Regions from separate parts of the Homo sapiens genome. Here region 2 is linked to region 1. The links are contacts of gene promoters, found by promoter capture Hi-C in blood cells and fetal thymus (Javierre and others, 2016). All regions are on one chromosome and are shown on one strand. Each heading gives the region's core, a stretch centred on a gene start or on the middle of the fragment in contact. The rest is flanking DNA. Distances are from core to core; before and after follow the strand shown.

Evidence for each region. The method cuts DNA at HindIII sites, captures the fragments that hold promoters and counts their contacts. A CHiCAGO score of 5 or more calls a contact.
Region 2: a contact is called between a fragment that was not itself captured here and the fragment with the promoter of PATL1 in region 1, in 1 of 17 cell types (fetal thymus). The highest score is 6.1, in fetal thymus.

The regions. Positions count from the first base shown.
Region 1 is chr11:59,667,280-59,674,291 of GRCh38, reverse strand. PATL1 (PAT1 homolog 1, processing body mRNA decay factor) reads left to right here and starts at 5,255. Exons shown (of 19, transcript NM_152716.3): 1 at 5,255-5,411. The coding sequence starts at 5,397. PATL1-DT (PATL1 divergent transcript) reads right to left here and starts at 4,982. Exons shown (of 4, transcript NR_187296.1): 1 at 4,750-4,982; 2 at 605-716. RefSeq lists enhancers at 4,706-4,995, 4,922-5,216 and a silencer at 5,176-5,525. The HindIII fragment of the contact is 2,400 bases long and covers 4,475-6,874 here.
Region 2 is chr11:59,107,256-59,113,750 of GRCh38, reverse strand. FAM111B (FAM111 trypsin like peptidase B) reads right to left here. Exons shown (of 4, transcript NM_198947.4): 1 at 6,455-6,495; 2 at 5,039-5,083; 3 at 4,045-4,211. The coding sequence starts at 4,125. Among named protein-coding and RNA genes, the nearest start is that of FAM111B, 3.3 kb to the right of the region's middle. RefSeq lists an enhancer at 5,346-5,395. The HindIII fragment of the contact is 698 bases long and covers 4,897-5,594 here.

The sequences.
Region 1 (7,012 bases), core at 4,006-6,505:
AGGCTTGGCTACTGGGGAGGCTGAGGTGGGGGAATGGTTTAAGCCCAGGAGTTTGAGGTAGCAGTGGGCTATGATTGCACCATTGCACTGCAGCCCTCTCAAAAAACAACAAACAAACAAAACAAACAATACAATTTGTGGCTTAAAACTACAACCATTTTATTTTATATATATATATATAATATATATAATAAAGTATTTTATATTTTATATATATATATAAAATACTTCTATGGGCCAGGAATTTTGGAGCAGCTTTGCTGAGTGATTCTTCCGCTCTTTATGGCATGGAATGGAGTCACAGTGTTTGGCTGGTAGCTGAACAGGTGTGAAGAGTCCAAGACAGCTTCATTCACATACCTGGTGTCTTGACTGGGATGGTTAATAAGCTAAATAGAGCTGGACCCACCTTCCTCTTTATGTAATTTCAGGGTCCTTCCATGTGATCTCTTCAGCAAAGCAGCCGGGTATTTTACATGGACTTACACTGCCAATCTTCTTAAAGGTGACCCAGAACTGGCAGAGCATCTCCACTTCCATATTCCATTAGTCAAAGCAGTCATAGCTCAGTCCAGATTCAAGGAAAAGGGAACATAGATCTTACCTCCTAATGGGAGAAGTAGCAGGGTGTGCTGGTTTGCGCCTGTAATCCCAGCTATGCAGGAGGCTGAGGCCAGGAGTTTGAGACCAGCCTGGGCAACATAGTGAGACCCTGTCTTTATAAAAATAAAAAATAAATAAGCTGGGTATAGTGGTGTGTGCCTGTAGCCCCAGCTATTCAGAAGGATGAGGCAGGAAAATCACTCGAACCCAGGGGTTTGAGGCTGCTGTGAACTATAATCACACCATTGCACTACAGCCTGGGCAACAGAGTGAGACCCCATCTCTGAAAAGTAAATAATAAAAACTAATCAGTTAATTATTAAATGGGAGAACTGTCAAAGAATTTGTGGCCATGTTTAGTCCATCACAAATTTTGCCTTGTAACAGTTATTTTTATTATATGGGTAATTCTTTTCCCCTAAGATTTGTTGCACTAAGGGGTCCCATTACTTTCTGGGAGGTTTGTCATAACTTTTTTCACTACATGAGAAATGACCCTGGGTGCAGCACCCTACTCTTTTCTCCCTCTATAACCCTGCAAGTACTAATGGACAATGTGGGGTTTCAAAGTGTAGTCACAGAACTAGTAGCGTCGGAATAATCTGGCAACTTGTTACAAATGCAAATTCTCAGGCCTGACTTCCCTCCTACTGAATGTGAAACTCTGGGGATGGGGCCCAGTAGTCTATGTTTCAACAAGCCATCTTGGCAATTCTAAATGCATGTTAAAGTTTGGAATCAGTGTTTTAGAGATGTAAGTTACTTGATGAAAATATCTGAAACCAGTCTCACAAGAAAGTAAATTGTACGTCATGTTTTTTTACATTTAGAAAAGAAACAGGCCAGGTGTGGTGGCTCACGCCTGTAAGCCCAGCACTTTGGGAGGCTGAGACAAGAGGATCGCATGAGACCAGGAGGTCGAAGCTCAGTGAGCTGTGATCATGCAACCGCACTCTAGCCCAAGTAACTTGTCAGGTTTAAAAAAAAAAAAAAAAAAAAGTAAAAAAGAAACATGTATACTCTGTAAATACTATAATGGCTTACAGAGCCTCCAGAAAGCATAGATAATGCCAAAGAAAGCTGGTGTGGTGGCTTTCTCTAATTGATGGCCTTCCTCAGCTGTCAATAACCTTTCCCATGTACTTGGCATGCAGGAGACACCTCCCTTCTCCCACCCACTCAAGGGACAGTTCCCAGAAACATCATACTTTATGTCTAAAGAATCACTTGTGAAAAGAACTTGTACCTTTTCCATCTTAATAATGGGCCTATTAGCAGCTCAAAAAAAACTATATATATATATATATATATATATATATATACAAAAAAAACCATATATATATATATATATATATATATATATATATATATATATATAGTTTTTTTTGAGATGGAGTCTCCCTCTGTTGCCCAGGCTGGAGTGCAGTGGTGTGATCTCAGCTCACCACAACCTCCACCTCCCAGGTTCAAGCAATTCTCCTGCCTCAGCCTCCCGAGTAGCTGGGACTACAGGTGGGTGCCACCATGCCTGGCTAATTTTTGTACTTTTAGTAGAGACGGGGTTCCACCGTGTTAACCAGGATGGTCTCGATCTCCTGACCTCGTGATCCGCCCGCCTCGGCCTCCCAAAGTGCTAGGATTACAGGCGTGAACCACCAGCACCCGCCTAAAAATACATTATTCTTTTAAAGGGACTTTCAATCTCCCTCACAGACAGGTGTTGTATAAGAGGAAATGGGAAATTTTGTTGATCCTGTCTATGACACTTTGTTTTCTGCTCCTTTAATTCCTGCTCTACAGCATTTCTTTCCTTGTACTTTCTTTGGGTTTATTTTATAGCTAATTTATATTCAGGCTTCCCTATTTTCGTCCTCAGTCTCCCGAGTAGCTGCTGGGACTACAGGCACAGGTGCACACCACCACGACCAGAAATAATGCAGAGCAGCTAATAAAACAACTAACCCAGCTAATTTTTGTGCTTTTTGTAGAGTCGCGGTTTCGCCATGTTGCGTAGGCTGGTCTCCAACTCCTGAGCTCATGCAATCCACCCACCACATCAGTTGTAACTATTTTCTGCTTTCCATTATTTAGTCATTGAATTGGAGGGGTTTTTTGGTTTTTGTTGTTGTTGTTGTTGTTGTTGTTGTTGTTTTTTGAGACAGAGTCTCGCTCTGTCACCCAGGCTAGAGTGCAGTGGCGCGAACTCGGCTCACCTCAAGCTCTGCCTCCTGGGTTCACCCCATTCTCCTGCCTCAGCCTCCCGAGTAGCTGGGACTACAGGCGCCCGCCACCACGCCCGGCTAATTTTTTTGTATTTTTAGTATTTTTAGTAGAGACAGGGTTTCGCCATGTTAGCCAGGATGGTCTCCATCTCCTGACCTCGTGATCTGCCCGCCTCGGGCTCCCAAAGTGCTGGGATTACAGGCGTGAGGCACCGCGCCAGGACTTTTTTTTTTCTTTTTTAATTTCTGAAAACTTAAGACTTTTTTCCTAATCTGTTTTTACTATTGATATCTTACATAATGATCAGAAAACATGATCTGCAAGATCAGGGATCAGCAAACTCTGTAAAGCGCCAAATAGTAAATATGTTACACTTTACAGGCCACACTGTATCCATTGTAACCACTCAACTCTGACTTTATAACATTAAAGCAATCAAAGACAATATGTAAATAAATAAGGTTGGCTGTATTCCAATAAAGCTTGCTTTACAAAAACGGGTGGCTGGCCAGATTGGACTGTGGGCCATAGTCTGCTAACCCTTGATCTACATGGCACCAATTCTTTGGTAATTATTAAGATGTACTGCTACTTAGTTTTTTTTGTTTGTTTGTTTGTTTTTTGTGAGACGTAGTCTTTGCTCTGTCACCCAGGCTAGAGTGCAGTGGTGCGATCTCGGCTCACTGCAAGCTCCGCCTCCCGGGTTCACGCAATTCTCCTGCCTCAGCCCCTCGAGTAGCTGGGACTACAGGCGCCCGCCACCACGCCCGGCTAATTTTTTGTATTTTTAGTAGAGACGGGGTGTCACTCTGTTAGCCAGGATGGTCTAGATCTCCTTGACCTTGTGATCCGCCCACCTCGGCCTCCCAAAGTGCTGGGATTACAGGCGTGAGCCACCGCGCCTGGCCTGTTACTTAGTATTTGATGTTTTATAATGTTCCATGCATGCTTGAAAACCAATAAATCATCTTGTCCCGACGCTCCACTTCTTTAAAGTTCAGGCCTGGCCCATGTCAACATTTGCTTTTGTTATTCTGGCACAGTGATTAAGACACTCGGTTTTTAATAATCAGACAAATCTCAGCTGCTAGCTTTACCACTTGCCATTGGGTGGTTGGAGGCAAACAATGTCGCTAATCCTCAGGTTCCTCAACTGTAAACTGAGAAAATAACAGTACCTACCTCATGGGGGGCACATAAGGAAGGATTCAATGAGATAATCCATTTTATAAAGCGCCTAGCAGAGTCCCAGGCAGCCTTCAATCGTTAGTAGTGTTACCATCATGAGGCAGGTGTAATTATACCCATTTTACAAGAAACTAAGGCTCAGAGAGGTTTAGGTAAGTTGCCCAAAGTTTCCTAGCCAGTGGCAAAGCACAAGCTCCCACCCAGAACTTTTCTTCACAAATTCAGCGTTTCCGATACTCAAACTGATCCAGACACACTAACATTTAGGGGATTTACTGTATGCCATTCCGAGACGAGGCTGCATTTTAAGACGCCCAGGGAAGAAACGGATTGCGAAACCCAAAAGAATTCATTCTTTGTGCTGCAAGTTTTGTCTGAAAGGAAAGGGGCAAGAAGGGCATGGAGCGTGCTAGAGGTAACAAACCACCCAACAGAATTCTGGAACCAGGGGGCCGAAGCTTCTAAGCTGGACACATTCCTCTGTGGGTTCGATCCTCTAAGGAAGTGGAGTCACCCAGCGGCGCACCACGGCCCGAAGACCCTGCTGCTGCGTGGCCAGCGGCCCACGGCCGTGCGGCCCTTCGAGGCTCTGCAGCTCCTCGCGCCTAATGAGCCTGGCGCTTAAAAATACCACCCTAGTTAAACCTCCCGGAACCTGTCTTCAGCATTTCAAAAAAAAAAAAAAAAAAAACGGGCGCCGTCATCACTTTGAGCCACATAAATCACAGCCCTGACCTGCTGTGGATTCAGCAGGCGACGAGCCGCTGAAAGTGGCGACGAAGTCCGCCCCTTTCGAAGACCAGCAACTTTCCATTCTTTTTTCCCTGCGCAAGGCGCAGATTGCAACGGGGAGACCCCCGAGCAGCCTGAGGAGTGAGTCGGACGTTGGAAAAACTGCCCGGGAATCTCATCTTTCCCAGCCCAGGCTAAGCGCAGGATTCTTCAAAGCTATATCCTGTGACAATCACAAGGGTTTTCTCCGCCCCACGGGTGACGGAGAACTCGTGACCGGCCCCTGAGCTCCAAGCCGAGCGCCTAGAGGGCGCGGAGAAAGAGGGGGCGGAGCTACAAGCCCAGATCACCAGGCAGCCGAAGACGGGCAGCGCGTGCGCAGTCTCTCGCCACGGGACCTCCTTCCCGCCGCTGAGACTAGGAAGCGGGACGCCAAATCTGTCCCTGCGCAGCCGCCGCCGCCGGGCGCCGAGCGGGGTGGCCGCCCTGCCTGAGGCGCGCCTGCGCACGTCCCCACGCACGCTCCGGCGTACGGCGGCGGCCAGGGGTCGCGAGCCGGTGGAGGACCCGCGCGCGGAGGAGCCGGGGAGTCAGCGCTTCTTCCCTCCCTCCCCCTCTCCCCTCCCCGCTCCCTGCCCCCCTCCCCAAGAATGTTCCGCTACGAGGTGAGCTGTTGCGACCGGAAGTGACCCCTCCCTCCCTCCCGCGCCCCTCTCCCTCACTCTCTCTCCGCGCGCCGGTCCTGTGTTCCTGCGGGGCAGGGGGCGGGCTGGGGGAGTCGCAGGACTTAGCTGGACGCGACTGGTCTGGGGTCGCGGGTCTAATCCTAGGGCTGGGAGCTGGCTTCATGGGTCGAGACAGTCCCATTAGTTGCCGCTGGGGAAAGTTGGCCTCCGTTTTGGGGTGGGGAGGGCCCGTTAAGTGCTGTAACCAGACCACACCCCCGCCCCCACCCCTAGAGGAGCCACGGAGGGTAGAGCACTGCATCTCCCCGGGTGCTTTTCTTAAGTAGGTGTCACCCGGGAATTCCCAGAGCCGCGTTTCCCGCCCTGGACCCGGAACCACCCCCCACCCACCTCCACTCGAATTACACTGACACACATCCCATTCACACAGGCTACCTTCAGGTGAAGGGGGCCTGGGCTTGCCGTTGGATTAGGGCCCCAGCCCGTTTACTAAAGAGGGCTCCGAGTTGGGAGGGGGGCGTGTCCTGCAGAAGTTCCTTCTGGGCTAGTGCTGGGAGACGCGGGTTTGGAGAAGGTGCCGGGAATGTAGCAATAGCAGCAGACAGTACTGACCCTGTCACCAACTCACTGTGTGACCTTGAGTGACTCCTAATCTCTGGACGTAAACTTTCTGAATTTGTAGCATGAAAGAACTGATGTAAATGATCCTTAAGAATTTTTAATTTAAAAAAGCAGCGATTTGGTAAAGTAGATATTTGTGATTTGGAAGGGAGTACTGCTGGAAGTTGCCTCTGATAAGGAGGCAGTGGCATGCCTATTGGCATGAGTTTGGAAGGGCTCTGGGGTAAGAAGAACGCCCTTTGACCTAATCTTTCCATTGTAAACAGGGTAGCTAAGAGGTAGCCAGGCAAGGTGTATCACAAACGTACCTACTGATAGAATATGGAATTCTGATTCTGAATTTTTGAAAATTGAGGACAGGTATACTTGATAGGAATGATCTAAGACCAAACCAAAAGGAAAACTTGGAGAATAAATCAGTTGAGTAAGATTGAAGTAAAGGGGGAAAATAGAACACACCTAGGATGTGGTGGCCTCTAGCCTTTGTTCGATAATCTGTAATCTTTGCCCACTTTGATCATCACAACTCTCTGCCATAGTTGGTATTGTCCCTGCATTACAATGTAAGACATTGAGCCTTACAGCCTAGCACAGAACCTTAGACGCAATAGGTCCTTAAAAGGTATTTGATGAATTAATTAGAAATTTTCTGAGTTGCCCATGTTCACACTGATTGTAGGAATGGAGCCAGAACTTGAACTTGTCATACCACAGCTTTTCCAGAGTTCATTTTATTGTGGTTGAAGACCTAATTTTCTGTTTCATCACTAGAGTTTAGGCCTATAGGGAAGATAAGAAAGATGGAAAATGAAGACAAAGCTTTAAAACGGAATAATAGTTGAAAAGATGACATGAATATAATGAGAAAGATGAGAATTTTGCTGGAAAAGATACATAAAGATACAAGAAAATAAAGGGTTCATTATTAATTGTCATCAGTATTCCAACCAGTGATGTAA
Region 2 (6,495 bases), core at 3,996-6,495, 560 kb after region 1:
AATAACTTATGATCTTGACCATCCAGTTTCCAGGGGACTCTAAGTCTGGGGGACGCTGATAGAGACGTGACTCCATCTGTGCAGAGCTTTTGTCTGGGGAGGGAGATTCCAGTGCTAGAGGTTTCTCTTTTGAGGAGTTTATGTAGGGTGGAGGAAGCAAGGGTTTCTCGTCAAAGGGGCAAGACATACTCCAGAGACCCAGAGGTAATAGCAGCCACTCACAGTTCTCTGGACAATCTTAAAGCTGCATGATGTCAGGATGACTAACCTCTGTCACTTGTGCCTTGTACTTCTGATCTTTCTAGTTCTCACCTTGTCTGGTGGCCTTGGAGAGAATAATGCACCAGTCACATTGCCCCTTCAATCACCCACTCCCTGCTCTGCCTTCATCCACCAGGTTTGCCTATTCTCCCAGGTACCCCACAGCAAAAGAAATTAAACAAGACCAAAATAAATGGAGAATATATCTTGTTCAAGATTGGAAGACTCAACATGGTTAAGATGCTAATCATCCACAATTGTGTTAATTTTTTTACACAACACACAATTTACACAAACACACAAACTTTGATCCAGATATTGCACCATACAAAAAATAAATAAAACTTAAAATCAATTGCAGACTAAACCTAAAACTACAACTCTGGAAGAAAACTAGAAATGTTTTGTGATCTTAGATTTAGGACAGTTCTCTGATGTAAAAGCAAAAGCATGATCCACAAAGAGAAATATAGAGAAAGTGGACTTCATCAAAGTTGAAAACTTTTCCCTCCCGAAACAGGAATAAAAGGATGAAAAGACAAGCCACACAGAGATAAAATATCAGGAATTATCACAAATATTATGAGAAAAGCAATATGACAAAGGACTTGTTTCCAAAATATGTAAAGCCCTCTCAAAACTCAGCAATAACTAACAAGTATAAAATGGGAAAAATATTTTAATAGACACTTCACCAAAGATATGTGGATGATATAAACACATGAAAAGATGCTCAAATCATGAGTCATAGTGAAATACAAATTAATACCACAAAACGATGCCATTACATACCTATGAGAATGAATAAATCAGAAAAACTTTGTGTTGACAAGAATATGAAACAACTGGAACTCTCACACATTGGTAACGAGGATGAGAAATCATACAGCCATTTTGTAAACATTTTGATAATTTCTTATAAAATTAAAGTTATGTCATACACTTTCCATGACAGCAATTCCACTGCTAGGTGAACCCAAGAGAAATGAAAACTAATCTTCATACAAAAACCTGCAGGCAAATGTTCACAACAGCTTTATATACAAAGTCCCCAAACTGGAAACAATTCAAATGTTCTTAAGGGAGTGAATGGATAAACAGATTTTGATACATTCACACAGTGGAATGCTACTCATCAATAAAAAGAAAAAACCTATCAGTGCATGCAACACTCATGAATCTTAAATGGAATGTTCTAAGTGAAAGAAGCCAGACTCAAAGGGTATGATTCAGTGTATGTTCCATTTATATGATGTTCTGGAAAAGTTAACACTAGAGTAATGAACAGATTAGTGGTTGCCAGGGACTGGGATGAATAGGGCACAAGTGGGGAGAACAGGAAATTATATAGAGTGATGGAACCACACAAGAAATTATTTAGGGTGATGGAACTGCTTTGCTTCTGGATTTTGGTCATGGTTACATTACTGCAGGCATTTGTTATAAGCCATTCAACTGTATACCAAAAAGACTGAATTTTACTGTATATGAAATACATAAATTTAAAGGAAACAATAAAAGTTAAAGCCTTTCAAATAATCTGTAAGACAATTAATTGGGTGTGGGGGTTTTTGTGTTCATTTCTATCATCTTTTTTTGTATCTTCTACTTTTGCCACTTTTTCTGAATTTATATTCCCTTGCTTTGTTGCCTCCTTTACTTTGATTTTTCCCTCTCATTCTATTTTCTAGACGAACAGTTTGGCAGTTTTATACTCTAGTTCTGTTCTATAATTGGATGCCCTAGACTAGTACTGCCCAATAGAATGTCTGCAGTGACGGAAATGTTCTACATCTGCACTGTCTAATTCCACAGCCACATGTGGTTCTTAAGTACTTGACACGTGATATAACTGAGAATTTGTACTATTGACCTTTTTCATTATTTGATTTTAGTTAAGTTGAATTTAAATTTAAATTTACATAATCACATGTGATTAGTGGCAATTGTCTTGAACGAAATAGCCCTAATCATTTTAACATTAATATTTAACTTAACAAAGTCTTAAGTGAATTGAATAACTCCTCCTAAGCAATACAAAGATAAAGTCTGTAAACACATCTCCTTTATTTACAGAAGGAAATCCAAAAACCTACACATGGAATTCAAAGAAAAAAAAGATACTGCAGCTATTTTCCAGAAAGCTATTCTACCTCTCTCCCACTTTTTAGGAGCCATACACGTATGGAAATGAATTCATGACAGCTTAAGAATATCTATATGTGCCCTCTCAGTCACAAGGTTTTGTGTTGAAATGGGTGAGCTACTTAAGTTGGGACAATTAGATGGCAAAGAGAAGTTTCCTCAGGAAACCAGGATAGACTCATTATAGGGAGAGTAAAGCATCTGATATTACTGCAGCTCTATTTGTCACTATGCAGAAAGCCAGCCAGGGGATAACATGAAAAGCAGAACACAGAGACTGAACACACAAACAAGTCCTTAAAGAAACTGTATACCACTGAATTAAGAGCTCAGCTGAATTCTGGAATGTCCACTCATGTGAACCAGCGAATCCATTTTATTGTTTCACAATTAGAAAATATTTTTACTGGAAATGTGGAAAGCTCTTATTGATATAAAGCCTACTGTGATCTTGGCACCATACTACCTTACCAGTATAGAAAACAGTATTTGCCTACCATATTCTTGAATTCTCCTTATAAAGCATCAAATGCAGCTATCCTGTTCCCCAAATATGTTTTCCTGTGTACACGACTTTACTTAGGCCATTCCTTCATCCTTGATACACTAGTGAAATGTTATTCATTCTTTTTAAAAAATAACTTAGTTTTAGACATACAAAATGCATAATTAATGTACATAATTAATGTATGCAACTTGATGAGTATGGAGATACATTATCACCACAATCTATGCCATCAACCTATCTATCACCTCCCAAAGTCTCTTCCTGCCCTCTTATTATTTTTGTAATTAGAACACTTAACATAAGATCTATCATTTTAGCAAGAACTTGAGTATACAACAGTGTTATTAACTATAGGCACCCATGCTGTACAGATCCCTAGAACTTATTCACCTTGTATAAGGAAACTTTGTACCCCTTGACTAATACCTCCATTTTTCTCTATTCCCAGCCCAACAACCACTTCGACACCTATGAGTTTGACAATTTTAGATTTATTATTCATTAATAAATCATTTCTCATATGACGCTGCTGTAGTTTCCTAAGTCTGAATTAAGCATTCTTCTCTCTGTACTCTAAAATCACTTGTTTATGTCTCAATTTTGTATTATCATTTTGCATATTTTGAGCAAAATAGTGTGGGTCAAAAACCAGTCTCTGCAGTCTGATGGACTAGGTTTAAATCCTTGCTCTGAAGTCCATTACTTCTGCAACTATAAGCAAGTTGAGCTTCAGTTTCTTCTTTTATAAAATAAGTATGATAATAATACCTACTGCATAGTTCTATTAAGTGTTAAATGAGATAATACATATGATGGGACACAATTCTAGGCACACAGTGTTTCCTCAGAAAACATTAGCTAATTATTTTTGCCTGTCTACACTTTCCAAGACTTTAAGTGTCTATATTGTTTGTTAGTCATCTTGTTGTCTTAACATACGTTTAGCATTGTTAACTCTATCATTTTGCTTTCCACAAGCACTTATGTGTATGAGCTCCCCAAATATATTTTAAACTACCTAAGAGAAGGGCTTATAACGACCATTGTTTAAGAACTTATCTCCAAGATCCTCATATGGCACTATAGTTAGACTATCACTCCTCTGAGGAGTTGTAAAAAAGTAGATATACCTTTGAAACTTCAGGTCTAGTCCTCTGGTCATCTTCCATAGCGCTAAATGACTTGTTTTCTTCAGTCTTCATGGAATTCATGATGAGTTCAAAGAGAATGTAACTAACTTCTACTACTCGATAAGATGGAGAAACAAGGATTGAATTTATTCTGCCACCTGAAATGTCTAAAAAAACCAAAAAAACAAGATCTATGAAATAACCACTTTCAAACACTGGAGATCAGGTGGTGTGGGACCTCATCTCTGATATCTGAGAAGAAAATCATATGAGGTAAGCCCTATGGCTATTTAGCTTACTGTATGGAGTTTCCAAGGCATATCTTAGGAAGGAGAAACAGGCAGAGTCTAGTAGTTTCCCTGATTTGAGAAGACAAGCAAGGAGTTTTGGGAGGCCAAGATGACTGGAGCTTGTATGACAGAGTACTAGGGAGAAGACAGCCACAGGAGCACACAGTATGAGAGATCTGCAGTGGGTATCCCTTGAGATTTCAGCTTGGTCAATGCATGAGTGGAACGAAACTGTTGAAAAGGAACAGGAAAAGAAGTACCCAAAAGAAGCAGATGTAACAATTTCTGAGGCTCATACAGGACTGTGTATAATTTCAATTCCCAAAAATCCGACTAGAAAACTTCATAATTCATGAAGTATCAGGGAGACTACTCTGCAAGGTATTTCTTCCGCAGTAGGACAAAATTAGCCCTAGTTCTGCTCCCACCTAATAAATAAAAGCAAGCTTCGAAAGTATAAAATGGTTTCCATGTAAAATATGAACATACTAGAACAAAGCTCAAGAATATTGATAGGAATGTAAAAATTTCTGGCACCCAAAGTTGTGAAATTAACAAAGCTTGATATCTAATAAAAAAATCAGCAGGCACTTAAAAAGTGGATAAATATGACCCATAATGACTAGAAATATCAGTGAATAGAGACAGGTCCAGAAGTGAGAGAGAAGATAGAACTAGCAGTCAGAAACATTAAAAGTCATTACCTTGAATTTCTGGCCAAAATGGAGTAACAGGGACTGGATTTCCCCCTAGTATGAAAACAAAACAAAACAAAAAAGAGCAAAACATATGAAACAATGGTTTGCAAGGAACTGGACATTATGCAATTAAGGACAGTGACAATTGAAATGTATCCTATAATCCACTTTAGCAGACTACCTTGAGGAATTCCAGGCCAGTGTGGCAAGGAAGGGCAGCAAGACAAAACCAGTAGGAATTCCAGATTTAAGGAGACAAAGCTGAGAGACTAAGGTGACAAGAGGTCACAGGCCAAAGACATGGTGGGAGACCTGCACAGAGAGGGAACTCTGGATATATGAAGAGGGTTCCCCTAAAGCATTCAGCTGTGTACTGATCAGAGCAGCAGCTGAGAAAACTTTCCAAGGCCAGGAAAGAACCACCCTAAAACTGTCATAGTCTAACTTTCCACCAACCCTCTCCCTGTAACCCTTTTAGGGATCCCCATTTCCTCATTTCTAGATTAAGGACTTTGGCTCAGATGAAACTTTTATTGTTCGTGTGAATTGGTTCCTCTAAGCTTTTTAAAAAGGATTCCAGATCCCACCCTCACAGACTCTGATTCAGTATGTCGGGGTGTGGCTATGGAATCTGCATTTTTACCTGCCTCACTCCACAACCCCCGCCTCAAAGGCGCACCAAGTTCTTTGAACAGCTGCCTCTGTCACCGCAGGATGACCTCAATGCTTTCCTAAAGCCCCAGAACCTATGAAGGTAACCTGTGCTTGAAGCTGTGCTTGCTTACAGAAACAGAGACTGGATGTCAGTAACCACCGTGCTACAAGATGGGAAACGAACTTAGAAGCGCTACCCTAACCTGAATCCTTGCTGATTACCATACCTCAATCTGTGCCTCGGGGAGAAACGCAGCTTGCTAGGCACATGTAGTGTTGGGTGGCAACAGAAAATAGGAGACTGCCACACTCAGCTGTTTCTGGAAAGCCCCGTCTCTTTCCAGAAATCCTTGCTTTCCAACTACCTGCCCTAAAAGACCTTAAGAAGCACCCTCACACTACACTCCAGGCACTTTGAGCAGGAGCTCTCCTACTCCATTCCTTGATCAGTGAATAGTTTCTGCTCTGCTTAACCGAACCTGGTCTCCTTCTATGGGCGCGAACGGCACCGGGCAGGGAAAGGACCCACCAGGGTCAAACGACCCTCTCGAGATTCAGGAACACCCAGATGATCTCTAAGTATCTCTTCAGGAGTACAACTCTTGGCCTTTGAAGCTGAGACAGGGGGAAGGGAATTACAACGGGCGGCTGCCCAGCTCCCCATCCAAAACCCCCTTGACTTTGGGCTGAGGTCCTTCTGCCTACTGCCCTTGTCAGCCATCCCCCTAAGAACTCCAGGTCCGACCCGGGAAAAGAAAAACCACTCACAGAACCGGAGAGTCTGTCCACACGGTGCAAGTGCCCGTCAG